3 separate regions of the Homo sapiens genome follow, and regions 1 and 3 are each linked to region 2. Evidence: promoter capture Hi-C in human tissues and cell types (Jung and others, 2019). All regions are on one chromosome and are shown on one strand. Each heading gives the region's core, a stretch centred on a gene start or on the middle of the fragment in contact. The rest is flanking DNA. Distances are from core to core; before and after follow the strand shown.

Region 1 (3,795 bases), core at 447-2,946, 62 kb after region 2:
CTGTTCCCCAAAAATGACTGAAATAAAAAAAGAATATACTGGATTGTGAAACCATAAATGGATTCAAATTTATATGAAATTTAGTATATGATAGAAAGCAATATTTTACAATAGTGGGGCAATAATAAATTAATTAAAAAGTAGTGTTAGGTCAACAGGCTTATCATTTGGAGTAAAAGTTAGATACATTACATGATATCTTACATCAAAATAAGTTCCAGATTCATTACTTAAGCATAAAGATGAATAAGGCTGTTAAAATATGGTGCTAGAAAAAAAAACAGGTGACTCTTTAAGCAAATATAAAACAGGGCAAGTATAACACTGTAGCTAGAAACTATAAAAGAAGACATTTCAAGGTTTAACTAACAAAATTTTAAAAATTAAGTTTAGAATTAATCACCACACAGAAAGTTACTAAGGCGCAGTGACACATGCCTGTTGTCCTAGCTACTTGGGAGGCTGAGGTGGGAGGATTGCTTCAGCCCAGAGTTCAAGTCCAGCTTGGGCAACATAACAAGACCCTGCATCTAAAAAACAAAACAAACGAAAAAAAGAAAGTTACTAAAGAAATGATCAACTAGAAAATAAAAATGTTTGTATCACAAAGTTAATACCCTAAAGTATATACATAATTCTTACAAACTAAGAAGAAAGGAGATGAATATCCCCTCAAAATAATGAGCAATAACAACTGCCAACTTTTCCTATTTGAGAATGGAAGCTGCCTTAATGAATTAATTTGTATTCCCTTCAGAACAAACTTTTGAAGTAGTTACTGTGTTTTCTACACTTTGGAGGTAAGGAATCAGAAGCTTAGGGAATGTAACCAAACTCCCACATTCACTCGGCTGGACTTGCAGATTCAGGCCATAGCCCTAGACATGCTAGGTGCTAATCCCTAGGCTGCAGGCCTCTCTTGAAAAGACAAGGCATCTAAATTGCTAAGAAATATAACTTGGCAGATTAAGAATGTATGTTGCAGTCTGGCGTGGTGGCTCACGCCTGTAATTCCAGCACTTTGGGAGGCCAAGGCGGGTGGATCACGAGGTCAGGAGATAAAGACCATCCTGGCTAACATGGTGAAACCCCGTCTGTATTAAAAATACAAAAAATTAGCCGGGCATGGTGGTGGGCGCCTGTAGTCCCAGCTACTCAGGAGGCTGAGGCAGGAGAATGGCGTGAACCTGGGAGGTGGAGCTTGTAGTGAGCAGAGATCACGCCACTGTACTCCACCTGGGCGATAGAGCGAGACTCCAAATATAAATTTAGCACACATTAAAAATAACAGTAAGATTTTTCAAGCCCCCCTGAGGCTGAGAAACATGAACAATGAGTAACACCCAGCATTAGTGACACTGTGGGATGTTAAAGAAAATATTATGCAATATTTAAATAATACCTTGTTAAAGCATGGCAAGGTAGGCTTTATTCAGGACCATTGTGATACGTACAGGGACAACAGCAATGGGACTGTGCAGTGGGGAAGAGAGATCAGCATCAACTATGAATATACCACAGACAAGTCGGAATTTACAACCAGGAGCCAGACTAGGGTCAGTGGATGGGAAATGACTAAGAAGAAGCATCAGGGTTTAGGGGGTCCCTGGCTAATCCAACCTAACAGTGTTCTTGCTGAAGACAGGTCAGCATAACCAACATCACCTGGGGGATGGTGGTGGGTGAAGAATCTGATCAGACATGAAGGACAGGGAGTTCTTGCCAAACTGACTTAGCTTTGTTCTTGCTAAATCTGGATTTTGCAAGGAAGTGCACAGATGGGTCAAGGGGAAGGTTCAGAAGCCTGACTAAAGTTTGGCCAAGCATATAATCTTTGTCAAGGGACAGACAGTCTCACTTGTTGGTAGCCATGTGAAGCTGATCACATCTCTGGGTGGAGGGGAGGGTGCCAGGGGAGGGGAGGAGGCACTGATCTGGCCATGGCACTCGGGATACGAATGTGGATGCCTTTGTATCCTCAGTGCCATACTTTGTATCCTGAGTTGGTTTGGGCCTTTTGACCAAACCAACGGGGAAACTAATCTTAGAGCAGCATATGGTGACGGGGGTACAGAGACAGGCTTCGAGCAAAGGCCTGGATGTAGTTCCCAGCGTTGCCCTCACTAGAAGTGTAGGCTTGGGCCAAGGAAGCTGGAGGTTCTTCATCTTCCAAAGTGGATAGTAACTGTATCTGCTCTTAAAGTTGTTGTAAGGACCAGTAGGCTGTAGAAGAGCCTAAGCTGTTTGTGTCTTCTGTGATTGTTTGCTTTTTAAAAACAATGATCTGACAGCTGTTATTGGAATATATATTTATATATGTATGTAGTTCTTTATGAGCATATATGTATGTGTATATGTATGTATATGCATGTGTGTACATATGTGTGTGCATGCTCATGTGCATCTATGTGTATCTATATGCATGTGCGTATAAGTGCATGCATGTGCATGTATATGTGCACATGTGTATGTGTGTATTATGTGTATATATGAATCCATAGACGTATGTATATATGCACATATATACATGTTTGTGTGTATCTATGCATGCATGGACATGCACATGTGTGTATGTGTACGTATCTGTGTGTGTGTGTGTGTGTGTGTGTGTGTGTGTGTGTGTGTATGGAGGGGCAGGGCCACTGGCAAAAGACTTGGCTTTAGAAGTAGAGAGGCTCTGACAGGGAGGTTTCTTCCTAGCGGCAGGGCAAAGGGAGCAGAGATGCTTGGAAGGGAAAGAAGGAACCCGATTTTCTCTGGAGAGGGCCCCAAAGCCTGTGCAAGGCTCGTTCTTGAGCTGCTGACCTCAGCAGCAGAGATGGGGCAAAGTTAGAGAGGCCAAATGCAACCAAGGGTCAGCCTGCAAGCAGAGAAAAGTGCTCAGTTAAAAAATTACTCGAGCCACCCTTTGGACTGACTGAAGGCCTTGCTCTTCCTCCTGCCCCACAGGCTATCAACTGGTGTATGGCTTAATTATTGACGTTTAAAAGTGAGTTAACTGCTTTCTTACAGATGAATCGCAATTAATAAATGTGGAACGAATGAGAGACGAAGACGATGAGCACCAGAGGACTGCAGGGAGCACGGCTGAGGCAACATCACCAGAGGATAGTAAAATTAGCAGACAGAGATCTAAGCACAAACAGTGTCTCTGTGTAGCCTTAAAGCATCTCTTTGAATATTTAATGGTTACAAAGGAAAAACAGTGAGTTGATGGGGGAGAACCCTGGCAGGCACCACCCTAACCAAGAGATCAAAGTTGGCATGACCAGGCACAAGGCACACTAACAGCCCACACCCACTGATCTGGCCCACCGAAAATGCACATCACTTCTGTGGCATTGCCACGGAATTTCCAAAAAGGCATTACCTCAGTCCAATGCAGAGAAGGCGTCAGGCAGACCTAGGCGGAGAGACTGTCCAAGAGCGACAGACCCATCCTCTTAAAAAGCCGGCCCTGACACAGAAAGGAGACAGAGAAAGGTGACAGCCAAATGCACGTGGGAGCTGGGAACAGAGGAGGGCACTGGGAGGGGCCTGCCTGCCGTCCAGCTCTCGAGACCACGGCGAGGTGAGTCTCAGCTCTCATAATCGCACTCTGATTCATGGAATGCCGGCATGAGAAGAGGCTGGGGGTGGGGAGGCTGCTTTCGCAATTCTTCTATAAGTCTAAAATTATCTCAGAATGGGACACTTTCGAAAGTGAGTTCATGAATAGAAACAGGCAGTGGCAGTGTATGTGTCACCCTCTAAGCATATTCCATGGCCCTTGCTAGGATCCGACTTGTGCTGATT
Region 2 (3,743 bases), core at 844-3,343:
CCAGGCCCAAATGGTTTTATAGGCAAGGTCATACAATATTTAACCAATATAATTTATATCCTTCCAAGGCCCTTTTCTATACTTGATTATGTAGAAGTAGGGAAGGAATTGCTTTGGAAGAAAAGAAACTTAGAGATTTTCACTGCTATGAAGATAAATCTTTACTGTTTTTGGTCATCTGTTTTGAAGAGCACCACCTGACTTTGTTCTCTCCTTTCTGCCAAGGAATCTCAATGATAGATTCTCCCCACTATATTGAGGGAGCTTTTCTCCTTAGATATGGTTTGGGGTAAATGCTGTACCTAGCTGTAGGGCATTAAAGATTGTGGTGAAAACTTGGGCTTTACTTACTCTGAGTGAGTTGGGAGCTGCTGGAAGCTTCTGAACCCAGAAGGGACCTGATCTGACTCAGGTTTTAACAGGACCATCTTGGCTGTTCTCCAGTTTCTAGCCAGTGGGGCCTCCTCCCTGTGTGCTGAAGGTGCTAACGATGTGTCTTTGCTTCCAAGCTTTTTCTGACCTTTTGCTGCAGCTTTCACCAAGGAGATGGGAGGCACTAGACTGAGAGTATGTGAGGAGTGAAGACCGAGGGCGGGCAGGGCAGATGGAGAAGTGCTGTGGCTATGCCCAATCCAGACCTGCACTGAGACAAAATGAGGAATACAGGCCTCTATCTCTTCTCTTATGAAAATGGACAAATTCCACTGTTCTGCCCAGGCTAGCCAGGGCTGCTGTAATGCCAGAGTGGTCATTCCAACTTCTGTGAACTAGAAAGCCTCTCACCATCCTCAACACAAATGTCCTTAAAGCCCTCTGGCAACGCATTGGTTTGGCTCCTAGTGGCAGCAGCAGCTGAATCCCTGGCACTGACCTGGTGCACAGTGTCCCCAGATCCCTGGTCAAGCAAGCCTAGACCTATAGCATTCCAGAGAGCCTGGAAAGGGTATGGTTAAAAATTCCTGTTCTAGCAATGTCTTCAAGAAGAAGCAGGAGAAAATGCTCCCCACCTCCCAGTGCCAGGAGGGGAGAGGAAGGAAGCTCAGTAGGACAGCTCTGCACAGGTGGCCTGGGGGTGTCTGCAAGATGACCTGGCTCTACCTCTCTACCTGCTCCTTCCCAGCTGTGGGGCTGGGGAGGGCTGGTGCCCTCTCTGAGTCGGTTTCTTCATCTGTAAAGTGCTTGGCTGAGGATCCAGCTGGAGTGTGGATTAAAGGGCACAGCAGGGTGCCTAGCACCGTCAGCCCACGTGTTTTTCTTGGGCAAGCCACTCTGAGCCTTACTCTTCCTGTCTCTAAGCGGGAACCCAAATGCGAGCCAGGATTGCTGCGGACTAAAGCAGTCTACGAACGCTTTTGTAGACTGCGAAGCATTGTTTGGTCTTCAGAAAGGTGCCCCAGAGACAAGGTGTCATTGGTTTCAGGTGGGGGGGGGGGGGGCCGGTCAGCAAACCTCCTTAGTCCTGGAGGGCAGGGTGGCAGCGCAGAGCGCGCGCAATTTCCGGAGGGTAACTGATTGTCCTGCTGAAAGCCCAATACCGTATTTATCCAAAAATACGTCCTTCTAGGCAAGTGATTTATCTGACACTCAGCGGGGGACAGAGCTGCTTGTACCGCGCTGGGGATGAAGGTGGGGACGTGGGCCAGACCGGGCCAGACAGGCTCCCCAGCGCTTCCCGCTCAATCACGCAGACTGCACTTTGGGGCGATCTCAGAGCTTTTCTTAAGTCTTCAGGCCAGTCTCACGTTCTCACCTTGGGAACCGAGCTTTAGAAGCCGGCCCTCGTGGACGCCGCGAGACAGCGGCGAGAGGTGGGAAGCAAGGAGGTGGCTGCGGGCCAGGGACCAGGCAGCGTGTTGGGGGGCGTGCGCGTCTGGCAGCTCCGGGATCCCCGAGCATCCGCCGCTCAAGTCCGGGAGCCGCGCGGGCGGGCCGGGGCGGGGCCAGGGCGGGGCCAGGGCGGGGCGGGACGTGTGACGCGCAGCGCGGGCCAATGGGGCGCGCGCCCGGGGCCGAGCCTCCTGCGAGCCTTCGCGGCGCCCGCTGCGTCACGTGAGCGGCGGGGAGTGAGTGCCCAGCGAGCTGCGGGCGGGCTAGTGCTCCGCCGCAGCGACCCGCGGGCCGGCGGGCGATCGAGCCAGCGCAGGACCCGCGGCTCGGCCCCCGGCCGCCGCCGGACCGAGAGTCTAGCCGCCGCCCCCAGCCCAGCCCGCCCGGCCGCAGGACCGCCGGGGCCTGGCCGCCGGTCCGGCGTGCGCCAAGTTCAGGTGGGAGAGGCGCGGCGGGGCCGGCCGGCCGCGTGGACGCGGCCCCGGGTGATCAGAGGGCTGGCCGGCCTCGGGGCGCGTGGCCGTGCTCCCGCGCAGCTCTCGGAGGCACCGCGCGAGTGCTGGAGGAATGTCGGAGGAGCGGGATGGGCCCCCGCGGAGGTGGGCAGGGGTCGGACTGGCCCGGGGGAGGTGACCCCCCCCGCCCCGGTCGCCCACCAGCACTTTGCTGAGGCCCGCGCCGCCGCCTCGGTGCCTGGCCGGGCGATTCCGTGGCGCGCCTTGCGGGCCGGCCCTCCCATATGGTGGGCACCGGCGCGGCCTGGTGAGAGGAGGGGGAGAGCGGACGCGCTGGCCAGCCCGGGGTTGGGGGGCGGAGGGGCTGGAGACGGAGGGGTTACTGTCGGTCACCGCAGCAGTGTCGGGGGCAAGGGGGGGGCGTGGGACGAGGGCATGGTGCCCAGCGGGCAGCGGTCCAGGACTCTAGAAGGGGTCTGAGCCGGCTCTCTTCATTTCCCACGCACGTTTCCCCTCACCCGCCGGCACCCACGGCGGCTCCACGCGCGAGTCCTTCGCGGACAGCCTCCCGCACAGCCACAGCGGCTGCCGCGCACCACGCCCCGCACACGCAGTCACACGACAGGAACTCACACCCCTTCACGCACACCCGCACCGTTCACGCGTCTCACTCCACGCTGAGTCCCCGTCCGCTCAGACCGAACATTACCAAAGCCATGGCCTGACCGAGGGATGGCGGCGGCGGGGCAGAGAGGCCGTCCCCATCCCATATGGTGGTCCGGTTCACTCTTCCCTCCCCGCCTTGGTGTTACTCATGGAACCCCCCTCTCACGGAGGGCACAGAGGGGCTGTTTTCTCCCACGGCCCTCGGAGGTGACAAAATCAACAATTGTTTGAGAGCCTCAAATCTCCTTCCCCCTGTCCCCCCGGACCAGGTGGCCCCTGGGGAGACCCTGCCGCCCTACAGGTGTGAGGACGCCCGGACTCTGCGACTTTGGGGCCTGCGGGCGGCTCAGGGACCGGAGACTCTTATTTTGAAGGACAGCCCCCGCCGCCACCCCCGTGATTTGCACGCTGACCCAATGGCAAGCCCTTGGCCGGCGCTGGGCTTGTTATCAATTACATGTTGTTCCTGCAGCCGCTGTGTCCCCGGGAGGATAAACAGCAGGCCTGGCCGGGCCAGGGGAGGGGGCGGAGTCCGGCGGCCAGCCGGGGACTGTGCCCGGAACAGCGTGTCCCCTCCCCCTGCACGCAGCCTGCGCCTCTGGCCGCCCCACGTGCTGCTGTGTTTCAGGGGCCGAGCCAGCTCCAGCCCTAGAGTGTCCTCTCTTTAATGCCGGTGCCCTGGGACATCCCAGAGCCCTTTCTGGGTTGTCAGTGCCTGGGTGCTTCCCCCTTGGGACGTTCAGCCCAGCATTAAGACCCTGTTGGCTGACCTGGGCCACCCATTCCTACTCTCCG
Region 3 (3,729 bases), core at 319-2,818, 43 kb after region 2:
GAGCCCAGGATCCCAATGTCTGGGAACTTCCCTGCTCCATATTGACAAGATGTGGCCCTAGGTCCCGCCCCTCCCCCATCTGGGGCACAGTGGGGTGGACCATGCAGCACAGGCTGGGCCCATCCTACCACTTAGCTTCCAAGACACAGTGCGTTACTGTTGAAAAGTGCCCCCACCAAGAAGAGATATGTTCTAACTCTAACTGTACTGGGAGTTACAGCCCTAACTCCCAGTACTTCAGAATGTGAACTTGTTCGGAGCTAGAGTTGTTGCAGATGTAATTATTTAAGATGAGGTTGCACTGGAGTAGGGTGGGTCTCTCTAATGCAATATGACTGGTGTCCTTATAAAAAGGGGACATTTGGACACAGACACACACATGGGGGAACCCCAAGTGGTCATGAAGGTGGAGATCAGGGTGACAGCCTACAAGATAAGGAACTCCAAAGATTGGCAGCAAATAGCAGGAGCCAGGAGGGGGACTTGGAACAGACGCTATCTCAGAAGCAGACATCCCTGGCCGCAGTTTCATCCTGGACTTCCTTCCCCCAGAACTGTGAGACAAGAGACATCTGCGGCCCCTAGTGTGTAGTGCTCTGGCAGCCCTAGCCAACTCTATGCAAGGTCTGTATCTTTCTCAAGGAAAGCAAGCCATAAAAAGATGGCCTTGGGGTCCTGGCTGTCTGTCTTTCTTTACCAAATTAGTGGAATTTTCTGTGATCAGAGAGAACGATGCTGATGCAATAGACAGACAGAGGGGATTACTACTATATGGGGGCATAGAGGGCCCTCATGTCTAGCCCTCCCTGGACTTCGCCTCTGTTCTGCCCCAGGTGGAGCCCAGTATTCGTTTGCTGAGCTGTGCTGTGTGCAGCTGTGGGGTGAATGGCTCTGGGCCCTGCTGGGGTCACTGTGGGAAGTGTAGTCCTCAGTTCTAGTAGCAAGAGCCTGGGGCACAGAGGTGTGGGAGGCAGGAGCTACTGGTTGGATGGGAGGAACCTGGGAACACGTGTGGGTCCCTGTGTGGGAGCCCTGAGCCCTAAGAACACAACTGGCCATAGGGAGGTTGCTCTGTGTTCTGATTCTCTGCTTCCCCAAGCGGTCAGTCAGGCTCTGTCAAGCATCATGGCCTTGACTTAGCTGTGCTTGGCCCATTCAAAGGAAGACACATGAATGACATTTGCAAGGAAGGTGGCAATGGCTCCTCCCACCCCTGTATGTGTGGTCCTTGGTGATGTGCTGTGACTCTCCTGTCAAGGGGGGACCCATATCCCCACCCTTTGAATTTTGGACTGACATTTTGTGAGCTATTGGAACCCCGAGAGCACCCCAGCCCCCATGAGGAATCCTGGGCAGGCCTTGTGAGGATGAGTCCCTCTGGGTGACCGTTGGCCACCGAGCGAGGGAGTGACACAGCCTGAGACCAGGGCTCAGCAAGCTTTTGTATAAAGAGCAAGATAATAGATATTTTAGGCTTTGTGTGGCCACATGCAGTTTCTGTCTCACCTCATCAACTGCTGTTGCAGCATGAAGCAGTCACTGGCAACACATAACTGTATGAGCCTGGCTGTGTGCCAATAAAACTTTATTTACACAAACAGATGGTAGACGGGTTTGCAGTTTGCTGAGTTCTGCTCAAGCCTCAGCTGAAGACATCCCTAGATGACTTTAGCCACACAACGTGCCCCAGTGTAAGGACCATGGCTGAGCCCAGACCAGATGGTCAGACCACAGGAGTGAGAGCAAAGAAGATGGTGGTTGTTTTAAGCCTAAGTTTTGGGTAGTTGGTAAGTAGCAATAAGTAGCTCATACAAGGCAGGTCTGTGTGTGGAACCAGTAGGGAGGGCAGGAGAAGGTGGGGTTGAGCCATGCCAGGGACTGAGGATGACAAGTGTGAAAAATGACCCTCTGCAGGAAGTCCAGGGCAAGTCAGTATTCCCAGACATTGCTTGGGATGGGGATGCCAGGGCCAGGGCCCAGAAACACTAGGTTACAGGTTGAATCATGTCCCCCAAAATTTATATCTCAAAGTCCAAATCACCAGTGTCTCCAAATGTGACCTCATTTAAAGATAGGGTCACTGCAGATGTAATAGTTAGGATGTGGTCATCCTGGAGTCATTCTGGAGTAGGATGGGCCCTTGTATGAGTCAGCTGAGGCTGCGTAACAGAATGCCCCATATGAGTGGCTTAAACAACAGAGGTTCATTTCCCCACAGTTCCAGAGGCTGGAAGTTGGAGGTCAATGCGTCAGCAGGGTTGGATTCTCCCACGGCCTGTCTCTCTCTGCCGTGCAGCTGGCCGCCTTTTCGCTGTGTCCCCATGTTGTCATTCCTCTGTGCACTTGCATCTCTGGGGTCTCTTTGTGTGTCCCAACCCCCTCTTCTTACAAGCACCCCAGTCAGGTTGGATTAAGGGCTACTTTTAAAGGCCTCATTTTCACTTTATGGCCTGTTTAAAGGCCTAATTCCAAATTTGGTTCCATTCTGAGGTTCTGGGGGTTAGGACTTAGATATATGAATTTTGGGAGACAGAACTCAGCCCATAACATCCCTGAATTCTATGTGATGAGGATCTTCATAAAAGGGGAGCTGGGAGCTGCCATGCACAAGGAGAATGCCACGTGAACATGAGCGGGAGGTCAGTAATGCTGAAGGGCTCCAACCACCAGCAGAAGCTAGGCGAGGGCCCAGGACAGACAGACCTTCAGGGCCTTAAAGGGAACCCGCCAGTCTACACACACCTTGATCGAGGACTTGCAGCCTCCAAAACTGTGAAAACGCAAATGTCTGTTGAAGCCCTCAGGCTGTCGTACTTTGTTACAGCAGCCCTGGAAAACTCACAGATGCTGTAATTTAAATTTTAATTAGAGAGATGATACAGTATTTGGTGCCCTGCATGGATGAAGCAGGAGGGTTCTTGTGTTAGATGGGAAAAGCACTTAGCGCATTGCTGGGTGCCAGGCGGGCCCCCTAAGGGAGAGTCAGACATAAGAAACAGGAGGGAAGCTTACCAGTGAAATCCATTTATGGAAACATTGAATACTCAGGTTCTGGCTGGGCGCGGTGGCTCATGCTTGTAGTCCCAGCGCTTTGGATGACCAAGGTGGGAGGATCACTTGAGTCCAGGAGTTTGAGACTAGCTTGGGCAACATAGTGACGCCCCATGTCTACAAAAAAGACAAAAAATTAACAGGGCATGGTGGCATGCACCTATAGTCCCAGCTACTCAGGAGGCTGAAGTGGGAGGATCCCTTGAGCCTGGCAGGTTGAGGCTGCAGTGAGCCTTGCATCACTCTACTCCAGTGTGGGTGACAAAGCAAGACCCTAACTCTAAAAAATCCCAAAAGACTCAGGTTCTTAGATACAAGGGCTTCCACATGAGCTCTGACAGCCACAGCATCTGCTGCACACTGGAGTCTGATGCCAGATTCTGAAAGAAGGGTGCTCAGAGGGGCTATAGCCTCTGAGCTATAGCTCAGGGGATTGCAGCCTGCCTGGTCAGCCAAATCAGCCAGGGATTGGAGAGTAACTTCCCATCCTACCAGGAAGAGCTGGAGCAGAGTGTGCATAAATGTGGATCCAACAAGAGGGCTCAACCCAGTGATTTACGATTGATAGCCAACTGGTCAGACCAGTGGCCTCCCCACCTTTGAGCCAGTTGATAGCAGCAGGGCTGGGGCAGGGCCGCCTTCCTGGCCCACTCCCGATCTCTTAGGAGGCAGGAAGGA

What was found. The method cuts DNA at HindIII sites, captures the fragments that hold promoters and counts their contacts. A contact is called where the count stands out against the background at its distance.
Region 1: a contact is called between a fragment that was not itself captured here and the fragment with the promoter of KLF15 in region 2, in 1 of the 25 tissues and cell types used here (pancreas).
Region 3: a fragment that was not itself captured here is called in contact with the fragment with the promoter of KLF15 in region 2 in 6 of the 25 tissues and cell types used here (H1 embryonic stem cells, heart left ventricle, liver and 3 more).

The regions. Positions count from the first base shown.
Region 1 is chr3:126,293,695-126,297,489 of GRCh38, reverse strand. It overlaps a transcript of KLF15 not described here. Among named protein-coding and RNA genes, the nearest start is that of KLF15, 62 kb to the left of the region's middle. The HindIII fragment of the contact is 3,548 bases long and covers 1-3,470 here.
Region 2 is chr3:126,355,758-126,359,500 of GRCh38, reverse strand. It overlaps KLF15 (KLF transcription factor 15), which reads left to right and starts at 2,093. Exons shown (of 3, transcript NM_014079.4): 1 at 2,093-2,264. RefSeq lists a silencer at 1,914-2,133 and enhancers at 2,032-2,791, 2,792-3,551. The HindIII fragment of the contact is 9,710 bases long and covers 1-3,743 here.
Region 3 is chr3:126,311,799-126,315,527 of GRCh38, reverse strand. It overlaps LOC105374088 (a long non-coding RNA gene), which reads right to left and starts at 3,168. Exons shown (of 3, transcript XR_924454.4): 1 at 3,013-3,168. It also overlaps a transcript of KLF15 not described here. The HindIII fragment of the contact is 7,168 bases long and covers 1-3,729 here.